3 separate regions of the Homo sapiens genome follow, and all the other regions are linked to region 1. The links are contacts of gene promoters, found by promoter capture Hi-C in blood cells and fetal thymus (Javierre and others, 2016). All regions are on one chromosome and are shown on one strand. The core of a region is centred on a gene start or on the middle of the fragment in contact, and the rest is flanking DNA. Distances in the headings are between cores, read along the strand shown. Region 1 holds the start of RAP1B (RAP1B, member of RAS oncogene family). Region 2 holds the start of CPSF6 (cleavage and polyadenylation specific factor 6). Region 3 holds the start of LYZ (lysozyme).

What was found. Contacts are between HindIII fragments. The CHiCAGO score rates a contact against its expected background, and 5 or more counts as called.
Region 2: a contact is called between the fragment with the promoter of CPSF6 here and the fragment with the promoter of RAP1B in region 1, in 1 of 17 cell types (neutrophils). The highest score is 7.4, in neutrophils.
Region 3: a contact is called between the fragment with the promoter of LYZ here and the fragment with the promoter of RAP1B in region 1, in 1 of 17 cell types (neutrophils). The highest score is 8.5, in neutrophils.

Annotation. Positions count from the first base shown.
Region 1 is chr12:68,608,582-68,612,307 of GRCh38, forward strand. It overlaps RAP1B (RAP1B, member of RAS oncogene family), which reads left to right and starts at 2,318. Exons shown (of 8, transcript NM_001010942.3): 1 at 2,318-2,462. RefSeq lists a silencer at 2,175-2,634. The HindIII fragment of the contact is 9,459 bases long and covers 1-3,726 here.
Region 2 is chr12:69,238,194-69,242,121 of GRCh38, forward strand. CPSF6 (cleavage and polyadenylation specific factor 6) reads left to right here and starts at 1,376. Exons shown (of 10, transcript NM_007007.3): 1 at 1,376-1,513. The coding sequence starts at 1,454. RefSeq lists silencers at 1,199-1,698, 1,849-2,068 and enhancers at 1,532-2,112, 2,113-2,692. The HindIII fragment of the contact is 17,360 bases long and covers 1-3,335 here.
Region 3 is chr12:69,346,625-69,350,443 of GRCh38, forward strand. LYZ (lysozyme) reads left to right here and starts at 1,757. Exons shown (of 4, transcript NM_000239.3): 1 at 1,757-1,920; 2 at 3,484-3,648. The coding sequence starts at 1,785. The HindIII fragment of the contact is 11,988 bases long and covers 1-3,819 here.

The DNA of each region.
Region 1 (3,726 bases), core at 1,068-3,567:
TAATAAGAGAAACTGTGTTTTTAATTAAATAGATTATTTTACACGTTCTCTCAAACTCTAAAAATTCTAGCTTCAATTTTCTAAAACCAATTTCTTTCTGGAAAAAAAAAATCAATTGCCCAAAGGACAAAGAGTTTTTCTAAAAAAAGAAAGAAAGAAAAAGCACAGTGTTCCCAGGTAACACTTCTGTGAGCTCAAAGTTTCAGACTTTCAGTTATCAAATTTTTATGCAATAACTGAAAAGTTAGTAAAGTCAAATTTATTTGTAATTCACTCATTCATTGAGAAGTTACAGTAATTCCAACGGACTGCTCTGAAATTTGCCTTTGAAACTTTTATTTAAAAAGGTTTTCTAAAGAATGGATGTTAAGTGTTCTCATAAAAAAATGCTAACTCAAGGCCAGGCGCGGTGGCTCACGCATGTAATCCCAGCACTTCGGGAGGCCCAGGCGGGCGGATCACCTGAGGTCGGGAGTTCCAGACCAGCCTGACCAACATGGAGAAACCCCGTCTCTACTAAAAATACAAAATTAGCCGGGCGTGGTGGCGCATGCCTGTAATCCCAGCTAGTCGGGAGGCTGAGGCAGGAGAATCGCTTGAACCCGAGGGTGGGAGGTGGGGGCGGAGGTTGCAGTGAGCCGAGATCACGCCATTGCCTTCCAGCCTGGGCAACAAGAGCGAAACTCTGTCTCAAAAAAGAAAAAAAAAATGCTAACTCAGCCGGCGCGGTGAGTCACGCCTGTAATCCCAGCACTTTGGGGGGCCCAGGCGAGCGCATCACCTGAGGTCAGGAATTCGAGACCAGCCTGGCCAACATGGCGAAATCCCCTTTCTACTAAAAATTAGCTGGGCGTGGTGGCACGCGCCCGTCATCCCAGCTACTCGGGAGGCTGAGACAGGAGAATCTCTTGAACCTGAGAAGCAGAAATTCCAGTGAGCCGAGATCATGCCACTGCACTCTAGCCTGGGTGACAGAGCAAGACTCTCAAAAAAAAAGGTAACTCTGTGAGGTAATGTAACAATGTATACATTACTTCAAACGATCATGTTGTATACACAATAAATGCAGACAATAAACAATTTTTAAAAAGATATTTTTCTAAGGAAATAGAAATTATCGAAATAGGTAATCTACTCAATTAACCTAAATTGTAAAACATTATAAAACACAGAGAACTGTTATAATTCATTCTCATCTATTCATTTAACTTAGGTTAGCTTAGTTTTCAATCACTACATATTCTTAAACGGAGTGAAATTAGTCACATTCCATTTATCTTCCAAATTTATCAACGTTTATTAAGATTTATTTCAAGAATAATTTGTACAGGGCCTAATTAAATTATGAACCAAGAAAGTTAGTCTTAAATGACCCCTCAATCCCTTTTCCCTGCACTTTGCTCTCTTAATCTCCTCGCCCATCAAAACTGCTTCAAGAAAAAGTTCTGATAAATTTCTTGTACTAAGGGTAAGTAAGAATGGTAAATTCCCGTGTTAAGTTCCCGCCCTTTTTGGAACGAGGCATTTTGGAACAGAAAGTGTTTTCTGGTGCCCTGAAGTCACACGATAAACCTACTTGCCTATGGGTAATCCTGTGAAGTGAATAAAGCGTCCAGGACATGCATTTAAATACGCAATTTATTTTAGTTATATAAATGGCGTTGGTTTAGGTGCAGGGTACAAACTTATTTAGAAATCATCGATTTGTTAACTGCGTTTGGCATGGGAATTTGGAAAGAGTTCGCCCGGGTTAAGACACCAATGGATAAAACACTTGTCAATCCAGGAGAAAAGGCATCTCAAGAATGGAAAGACTTGCTGGCCCAGGCTCCCTCGGGGAGCTCTAGGTGTAGAAAATGCGCGCTCTCCGTTACTTCTCGGTTACTTTGCCCAGCACAAAGGACGACGCGAATACCAACAGACTGGACGAGTCGGTGACTACAGTTTGCATTAAGAGGCGGCGCCTTTTGGGTTTCGGAGGGTTCCACTGGAACCCACGAGGGTCAGGAACACCGACGCGCGGATTCCGCCCACCAGACAGCCTGGGGAAGCGAGCCTGAAGGCGCGGCGCAGCTAGAGAGAAGAACCTCGGCAGACATGCCGCCCAGAGGCAGCTAAGGGGCCCGTGGGCAGGGCCTGCGCTCCGGCTGCGATGCAGGCCGGCTAGAGGCCGGCGCCGAGGACCCGGCGCGCGGCGGCCCCGCCCCCTCGGCTCCCCTCGCCCCGCCCCCTAGGCCCGCCCCTTCCCGGGCCGCGCACCCGCGCGCCCCGCCCGCGGGCGGAAGCTGGAGCGAGGCTGAACGCCTGACGTCAAGGCGACATCGCCAAACCTCGCCCAGATTCAGGCGTGTAAACCAGCCGGAGCGGCGCGGCAGCGGCAGGACCGCCGTGGCGCCTAGAGTAGCGACCCGGGGGGAGCGCGGGGCGACGCTGGCTGCAGGGACCCGGTGACAGCGTGAGAGGTTCGCAGAGTGAGTGCGTGGCCGCTGAGGGAAGCCGCGGCGGCGGCCGCGCGGGGCCGGGCGCCGGCTGAGGGGAGCGGGTGGGGTGCGGCGAGGCGCGGGCCGGGCGCGGCGGTCAGGGGCCCCGGCGGCGGCAGCCCCTCGGCGCGCGGCAGGTGGCGCGAGGGCCAGGCGCCGGGCCCGCGAGCGCGCTGCCTTGCGGGCCGGCGAGGAGGAGCAGCCGCCGCCGCCGCGGGAGAACAGCGCGCTTTGCGGAAGGGGTCAAATGTCTGAAATATGGCGGAGGAAGTGAGAGCCCGAGGACCCCCCCACCCGCCCGCTCTCTTCAGCCCGCGTCCGCCGCAGCTTCTCCCGCCGCCCTCCTTTCCCCGCCGGCTCCCCCGAAGACTCGCTCCCCGCCCCGAGCCCCCTCGCTTGTCGCCTGGGTTCCCTCCGTGGTATGGGTGGAAGTTAGAACGGAAACCAGAAAGTTGTCCTTTGCGAAGACCTAGCTTCTCCCAGCCCCGAGCTAGGGCGAGGAGCCTTCGGGGGAAACCACTCCCAGGCGCCCCGCGGGCTTGAGCCTGACAGCGAAAAAGTTTGCCTGAAACGGGGCTTGCTTGCTCCATTTGTTGCGGGAAGTGGCAGGAGGAAGGCAGCGGAGAGAGCCCCACTTAGTCTGGCAGCAGCCACCGTGTAGAGAAAAACTGTTAAAGGGGCCTTTCCCTTCGTCAGCAAGAGGAAATCTCTTTCTCTTAGAGGGAGAGAAAATCCAGGAAGTTTGTCCTCTTCTCTTTTTCGCCATCTCGAGGTGTCTAATCCTAAAACTATCAGCGCCATGAATTTTATTTAAAACTACGCCCAGTGAACCGGGCTCTCCGGATTTTTCTTCTGAAAAACACTGATGTCTTTTGGAGAAAAGATCATTTTTGCAAGTTAAAGCAGATGGTTTCCTTCCCCTTCGCTTTCCCCCCTCTCCCACTCTCTTTAATAGTTTAGAAAAACATTTTGGCCCTGTAACTTCTGATTGGTATGAATAGAAGCAGTTCTGTGTTGCAGTAAGGGGAAATCACATTTTTACGGGGTAGAAAGTTGACACTAAATGAAGATTGTGATTTTAGTATTTTAAAATTAATTCCGTCTAATTGGATTTTGGTTTTGCAGGCAGCATCTCATATATGTCGAGTACTTAACAATTTAAAGCTCTGACTTGTAAATTTATTTTTCAGCTCTCTTTTTTCGTAATTAGAATACTGTTTGGACTTGCTCAACAAGACCTTATCTT
Region 2 (3,928 bases), core at 126-2,625, 630 kb after region 1:
CTGGCCTCCAGGACTGCAACCATGCTTTTTCCACCATACCAAGTGCAGATTGAGTCTTTTTTATGCAAAAATGCTTGGATTTGAGGGGATTTTGGAATATTTGCATATACATAAATTATCCAGGAGATGGGACCCAAGCCTAAACGAAATTCATTTATGTTTCACATATACCTTATACACACAGCCTGAAGATTATTTCATACAATACTTTTAGTTATTTTGTGCATGAAAAAAAGTTTTGATTGCATTTTTGACTGCGACCTGGCAAATAAGATCAGGTGTGGAATTTTCCACTTGTGGCATCATGTCAGTGCGCAAAAAGTTTCAGATTTTGGAGCATTTCAAATTTTTGGATTAGAGATGCCCAACCTTACAGATGTTGTTTGGGTTATTCTATGAATGATTTCTGGCCAGTTTCTCAGGAAACACGCTCTACTACAGTATATTTTTTAATGAGTGAAAAAGAAATTAAGAATGGAGGGGAAAGTTTCAAACTGGAGAGACATCTTTGAGTAAAGTATCGTGGCTGAATGTTCCTACCTTTATTGACCATGTGACCTGGTTAAATCACTTAGGTTCTATTAGGCCTCAGTCTTCTCTTCTGTAAAATGAGATGTTTAGACCTAAGGACACCTTTCCAGTTCCCTTCCCGTTGGGACATTCTAGGATTCTGAGAGAGAAGCCCCCCTGGCCTCAAGATACCTCCACTCTCTTGGGTGTGCTCTAAGATGACTGCATTCATGTTAGAAGCATCTGAACTACGCCAGAGACAACCTACTGTAGATCTAAGGAAGAAAAAATGAATGGCAATGAATGCGAGAGGAAGGTGGGGGGGAAAGAAGCCCACGAAGATTAGAGATGGAAATGGCAACATAAACAGCATGCAAAGATAACCACTGACGGGTATCTAGCGTTTACGATGCAAATAAAACTCTGCTGGTCTCTGAGGATGCAGAAACAAGACATTGTTTTTGGTCTTAAGCCGTTCACAGAATGCCCGGGGGTTACACTTTGCATTTAAGCACGGACATATAACTTCCACCTTTAAAAGTCCTGGATGTGAGAAAGATAAGAACAACGGATAAATGAAAATATTAACAAAACGTCTGAGTATGCCAGAGGCCACGTGAAAAGACGGTGTGTGGAAACAGGTGGGACCCACTGCTAAGCTGGATGCGCGAGTAGGACAAAAAAATTGGCCCCCACTCCCGGGCCTCACCCAGACACAAAAGAAACGTCCTCTGCCCTCAGAGGCGCAGCCTTTCCTCAGCCAGCAGAGCGGCTGGGCTGCAGAGTCCCCGCCCCCGGCCGGCCCCTGTCGCCCGCGCCTCCCTCCCTCGGGCCTCGGAAGTGACGCAAGCGCCCCCCCACCGCCGCTAGATCCGCTGCTGCTGCCGCGGCGGGCAGACCTGCAGGAGGCGGCGGCGGCGGCGGCGGCCGAGGCTGAAGGAAGATGGCGGACGGCGTGGACCACATAGACATTTACGCGGATGTCGGCGAAGAGTTCAACCAGGTACGTGAGAGCCCAGGTCCCCGCCGCCGACGCGGGCGGCGCTGCGGCCGGGAAGCTGACCCGGGGCCCGCTGCGGCCGCGAGCCGAAGCGACTGCAGAGTGTGCGCCCTTGCCGCCTCTGGGCCGCGCCGCCGACCCCTGGCGTGGCGCCCCCCCGCCCCTCGTTCTACCGCGTCGTTTCACGGGCCGCGGGCGCGGCGAGTCGCCGCGGGGCCCGGAGCGCGGACGCGGGCCGCTGTGCAGCTGCCGCCGGCTCCTCCCTCGCCGGCGCTGCCTCGCTCCCTATTGTTGGCGGCACCCGGCTGGCGCTTCCCGCCGCGCTAGGCCCGGGCGGTGGGGCCGCGTGTAAGCGGCGGAGAGAACTGGCCGCCGCCGCGCCCCCTCCCCCGTCGCTGGTCGGAGGAGGAAGCCCTGGCGGGGCGCGTGCCCGCCGCCGCCGCCCCTTCCCCGCCGCTGCCGCTCGGGCTCCGATTCCTCCCATCGCTCCATTTTGTCTCCCTGCCCGCGCACTGTCGCCTCATGGAAGGCCGCGTTCACGGCCCTTTGTATCCCGCGCGCCCAGTCCCCGGGGCTCTCCTTCTCGGGTTTGCGACAGGTTTCGGCGTGGCGCCTTCCTCCTCCCCTCACACTTTCTGAAGGCGACTGAGGTGCGGGCTCATTTGCAACAAGTCCTTTGACTTTTGGAGCCACAGATAAAAGTCGGTGCGCTGGTCCTGCCTCATTAATCCAGGGCTTGCAGTGCTTTGAAGCCCAGTCGTTGTTGGCCTTTGTGATGAAAATACCTGTGAAGATGAGTGGCCGGGGACCAAAAGGAAGAATTGGAAGCGCGATGGTTGGATGGAACAAAAAGATGTTAGCTCACCCACAGATCTCATAGTGATTAAAATGAAAGAACGTTCACCCCAAATCCTTATGATGTGGTTTAAAAATAAAGAGTTATAGATAAGACCCTATTTTCGAAAACAAAGTGTTAAATCCCCCCACCCCCACCCCCGGGCCCCGTGTTACCTTTTGAAAGGTTGAGCGAAAGTGAGAATGCAAGGTTTTCCTGAACGACGTTGCTTAGAGGTAACGCGGGGCTGTGATGTCTGTTAATGGGCATCCTTGCAAAAGATGTCGTTTGTTGCTAGTGACGTTTAAGGTTTGAACCTGCTGTTCGTATCTACTGCATTTTATGTAGTAACACATTTAAAACAATTAAATTGTGCTTAACTGCAATGTTCCTAAAAGCCTTATTTTTTTGTATTTCCCAGGTCCCTATGAGAAGTTTAATGAAATATTACTGGCTAATGTGGTTTTCCCACCTCCATTAACCATCATATTCGTGACTAGTTGCTCAGGCTTTTTAAAAAACAAGGAAACTCAAGAGATCTTTACTGTTTTATTTTTCAGGAATGACTTTGTGCCTCTGGTTTAAATATTAGAAAACAGAAAAATACCAGTTGGCTTTAAATGTTTGCTATTCAGTTAAAGACTGGATTTGTTTAAATGTAATACATTGTAATCAAAGGTTAAGTTTTTAAATCTTTGTGTTTTTAAAATTGTGCTTATGTTTTAAATAATAATACTTGAGTTGTGTCCATTACAAATCAGATACATTCCTCGAGTGCAACACAGGTTCTAACGCTTATAAGACCTCTAGGAAATTTTTTTCCTTTTATTTATCAAATGAATATAACTGCGTTTAAAAGAGGGCTGTAACTGCAAGGAACAACGATTGAGTGTTCAAGACTGCCTTTATTAGCTTTACTTACAAGATAATACATTGGTTCACCTTTCTATGCACAATAAAAGAAGAATTGGGTCTCAATTTTAGAAGTTAAGCTTTTTTCAGTACCTCTTAATGAAATATTTTTAGGCTTTTGCATACTTAATTTGAGAGGGACATCTCCCTTATCCGGATAGCTGGGTGGATTCTTATCCCTGTGCAGTAGCAAGTGCTGACTGGGCAGGAGGTAAAAAGAGATTAGTTTTGTGGACCCAATGAGGAACTCCTTTTAAATGTAAGTTTTCAATGATTTGTATAAGGTACCTACTGCATTACGTCTAACACAGTTGTATAATTTTACCAGTAAAATCTTTATATGTTTGAATAGATTAATGGCGAGGATAAATAGAGGCATTGTTTTTGCTACTTTGCATATCATTGGCCAATCAATGATTGATTGATTTGTATATCCTTTTACATTACCGCTTCTTGCTGTGGTAGTTTCTGTACCAAAAAAAAAAAAAAGGTCACAAAAGGATAGTTGGTTATTTTCAGAGCTTATCTTGTTTTTAAAAATATGTTACTGTCATTGAAATATTTTTCCAAAATCTTACCAGAATTAGAGGCAACCACAAAATAATTTACAACTGATTTAATCTTTACTAGCTGGCGACCTTATTTCTACTAGTTGCTATAGTAGACTAGAA
Region 3 (3,819 bases), core at 507-3,006, 740 kb after region 1:
AACTAATTTTTCTATTTTTCGTAGAGACGGGGTTTCACCATGCTGGCCAGGCTGGTCTCGAACTCCTGACCTCAGGTGATCAGCCTGCCTTGGGCTTTCAAAGTGCTGGGATTACAGGCATGAGCCACCGCAGCTGGCCATTTTTTTTTTCTTTCTTTTTTTTTTTTTTTTTTTTGAGACAGAGTCTCACTCTGTTGCCCAGGCTGGAGTGCAGTGGTGTGATCTCAGTTCACCACAACCTCCGCCTCCCGGGTTCAAGTAATTCTCCTGCCTCAGCCTCCCAAGTAGCTGGAATTATAGGCGCACCACCACGCCCAGCTAATTTTGTATTTTTAGTAGAGACGGAGTTTCACCATGTTGGCCAGGCTGGTCTTGAACGCCTGACCTCAGGTGATCCACCCACCTCAGCCTCCCAAAGTGCTGGGATTACAGGCATGAGCCACTGCACCTGGCCCTATTTATTATTGAAGAATCAAAATTAGGCCTAGCCTGAAAAATGAGATTATTCTTGATTTTTGAACAGGGTCCTTGAACTGTCATTTAAAACCAAATCTGGTAATCTTTAGAGGCCACTGATGAAAAATAAGGGTAACTACAAAGTGATGACACTTTGTGTGGCTCAGAATCTGTCCTCTTAGGCAGATACAGAAGTGCAGTTCTTTTTGAGTTCTGGTAGCATTGTTTTAAAAGCTGTGCACAGCCTCCTGAGATTGCTATTTTCAAAGGTAGCATTTAGTTGGATATATGTTTGGGTAGGTTTTATTTTTAAAATGCTGTTGCTTTCTAATGACCCCTTATGTTCTAATATGGAAAGGGGAGGCAAAGTATTGTGAAAAGTAGTTGGTAAAGTAGGCCGGATGTGGTGGCTCACACCTGTAATCCCAGCACTTTGGAAGGCCGAGGCGGGCGGATCACGAGGTCAAGAGATCCAGACCATCCTGGCCACATGGTGAAACCCTGTCTCTACTAAAAATACAAAAATTAGCTGGGCATGGTGGTACATGCCTGTAGTCCCAGCTACCTGGGAGGCTGAGGCAGGAGAATTGCTTGAACCCGGGAGGCAGAGGTTGCAATGAACTGAGATTGCGCCACTGCACTCCAGCCTGGTGACAGAGTAAGACTCCATCTCAAAAAAAAAAAAAAAAAGGTAGTTGGTAAAGTTGTTCACATGAACCTTATTTATAATAGTAAAACACTGATTTATAATAATAAAAAATTTGCTATAGTAACAAAAAGAGTCTAGAGTAAGAAACTAGCTGAGCAACGTGGTGTCACACTATACACCCATTAAGACAACAGGCACATGTGTCATGTCCATTTTGTGGAAAAGATATGTAAAATAATTTTAAGTAAAAAAGATAAATATAAAAAAGTGAATGCATACAAAACAATTTCACAAAATTGAATGTTACTCAAAAATCACAGCTCATTTTAAGCTGCACAAAATAGTCATTTTTTTCTTTATAATTGCTCAAATTCATAATCAAACAGAAGAAAGTTCCTGTCTTGGAAGTAGTGCTATGCCCCAATTCTTCCAGAGCCAGTACTTTAAACAATTCCATTTCATTATTTTCCTGTAGACTAATTCTTAGGACATCAGCATATCTCTCTTCAAGCATTAAAAAAATCTCTTTAGAGTCAGTGGATCAATAGACAGTTCCTGTTTTCCACACAACTGAAAGGGTGGAGCCCCCAAACCACAAGGGGAAGAAGGAAGTTAAAAGATGTTAAATACTGGGGCCAGCTCACCCTGGTCAGCCTAGCACTCTGACCTAGCAGTCAACATGAAGGCTCTCATTGTTCTGGGGCTTGTCCTCCTTTCTGTTACGGTCCAGGGCAAGGTCTTTGAAAGGTGTGAGTTGGCCAGAACTCTGAAAAGATTGGGAATGGATGGCTACAGGGGAATCAGCCTAGCAAACTGTAAGTCTACTCTCCATAATTCCAGAGAATTAGCTACGTATGGAACAGACACTAGGAGAGAAGGAAGAAGAAGAAGGGGCTTTGAGTGAATAGATGTTTTATTTCTTTGTGGGTTTGTATACTTACAATGGCTAAAAACATCAGTTTGGTTCTTTATAACCAGAGATACCCGATAAAGGAATACGGGCATGGCAGGGGAAAATTCCATTCTAAGTAAAACAGGACCTGTTGTACTGTTCTAGTGCTAGGAAGTTTGCTGGGTGCCTGAGATTCAATGGCACATGTAAGCTGACTGAAAGATACATTTGAGGACCTGGCAGAGCTCTCTCAAGTCCTTGGTATGTGACTCCAGTTATTTCCCATTTTGAACTTGGGCTCTGAGAGCCTAGAGTGATGCAGTATTTTTCTTGTCTTCAAGTCCCCTGCCGTGATGTGGGATTTTTATTTTTATTTTTATTTTATTTTATTTTATTTTTAAAGACAGTCTCACTGTGTGGCCCAGGCTGGAGTGCAGTGGCATGATCTCAGCTCACTGCAACCTCTGCCTTCTGGGCTCAAGTGATTCTCGTGCTTCAGCCTTCTGAGTAGCTGTGACTACAGGTGTGTACCACCACACCCAGCTAATTTTTTGTATTTTCAGTACAGATGGGGTTTCACCATGTTGGCCAAGCTGGTCTTGAACTCCTGGCCTCAAATGATCTGCCCACCTCAGCCTCCCAAAGTGGTAGGATTACAGGTGTGAACCACTGCACCCAGCCGACATGGGATTTTTAACAGTGATGTTTTTAAAGAATATATTGAATTCCCTACACAAGAGCAGTAGGAACCTAGTTCCCTTCAGTCACTCTTTGTATAGGATCCCAGAAACTCAGCATGAAATGTTTTATTATTTTTATCTACTCTACTTGATTAACTATCTTTCATTTTCTCCCACACAATTCAAGATGTGCCATGAGGAAAAGTTATTTTATAGTTTAGTACATAGTTGTCGATGTAATAATCTCTGTAGTTTTCAGATTGAATTCAGACATTTCCCCTCAATAGCTATTTTTGAATGAATGAGTGAAGGGATGAAATCACGGAATAGTCTTGTTTTCAAGATTCTAACTTGATATCCAAATTCACCTTTAGATATTATAAGAAAATTTCTATCAGAAAATCCTTATGTTTTTCTGATTAAAAAAAGCATTTTTCCATCAGCCTATGTATCTGCTATGAATTTACAAAATCTACTCAACAGCTCTGTTGATTTTTCTGTTCTTGGCTGAATGTTGCCTGAGGGATGGGAGCACGGGAAGGGTAAAAGCAATGGAACAAACATGTATTTTAATATTTTAAAAGTATGTTATATTGTTCGTTGGTGTTACAAGATGATTTGCATTACAAAAGGATTCTCTTACAAGTCCCTTATCTTAACACTAAAGTGCTAAGATATTTTATAAGTAAATCTTTATACTTATAAAACAAATCAGTAAAATAGAAGTAGCTAAGTAGAACTGATTTTGCTATAGAGTATAAGTCACTTAGTGTTGCTGTTTATTACTAAAAATAAGTTCTTTTCAGGGATGTGTTTGGCCAAATGGGAGAGTGGTTACAACACACGAGCTACAAACTACAATGCTGGAGACAGAAGCACTGATTATGGGATATTTCAGATCAATAGCCGCTACTGGTGTAATGATGGCAAAACCCCAGGAGCAGTTAATGCCTGTCATTTATCCTGCAGTGGTAAGACAAGCTAATATTTGACCAATCTGGTTATACTTACAAGAATTGAGACTCAATACAAATGAAAAAGCCTTGAAAGGTTCATGAGGGACCTAGAAAAACTACATCTCAACTTCCAGAAAGTCATTATTATTTTCCTCATAATTCCCTGAGTAAGAAATTAAAGAAGTG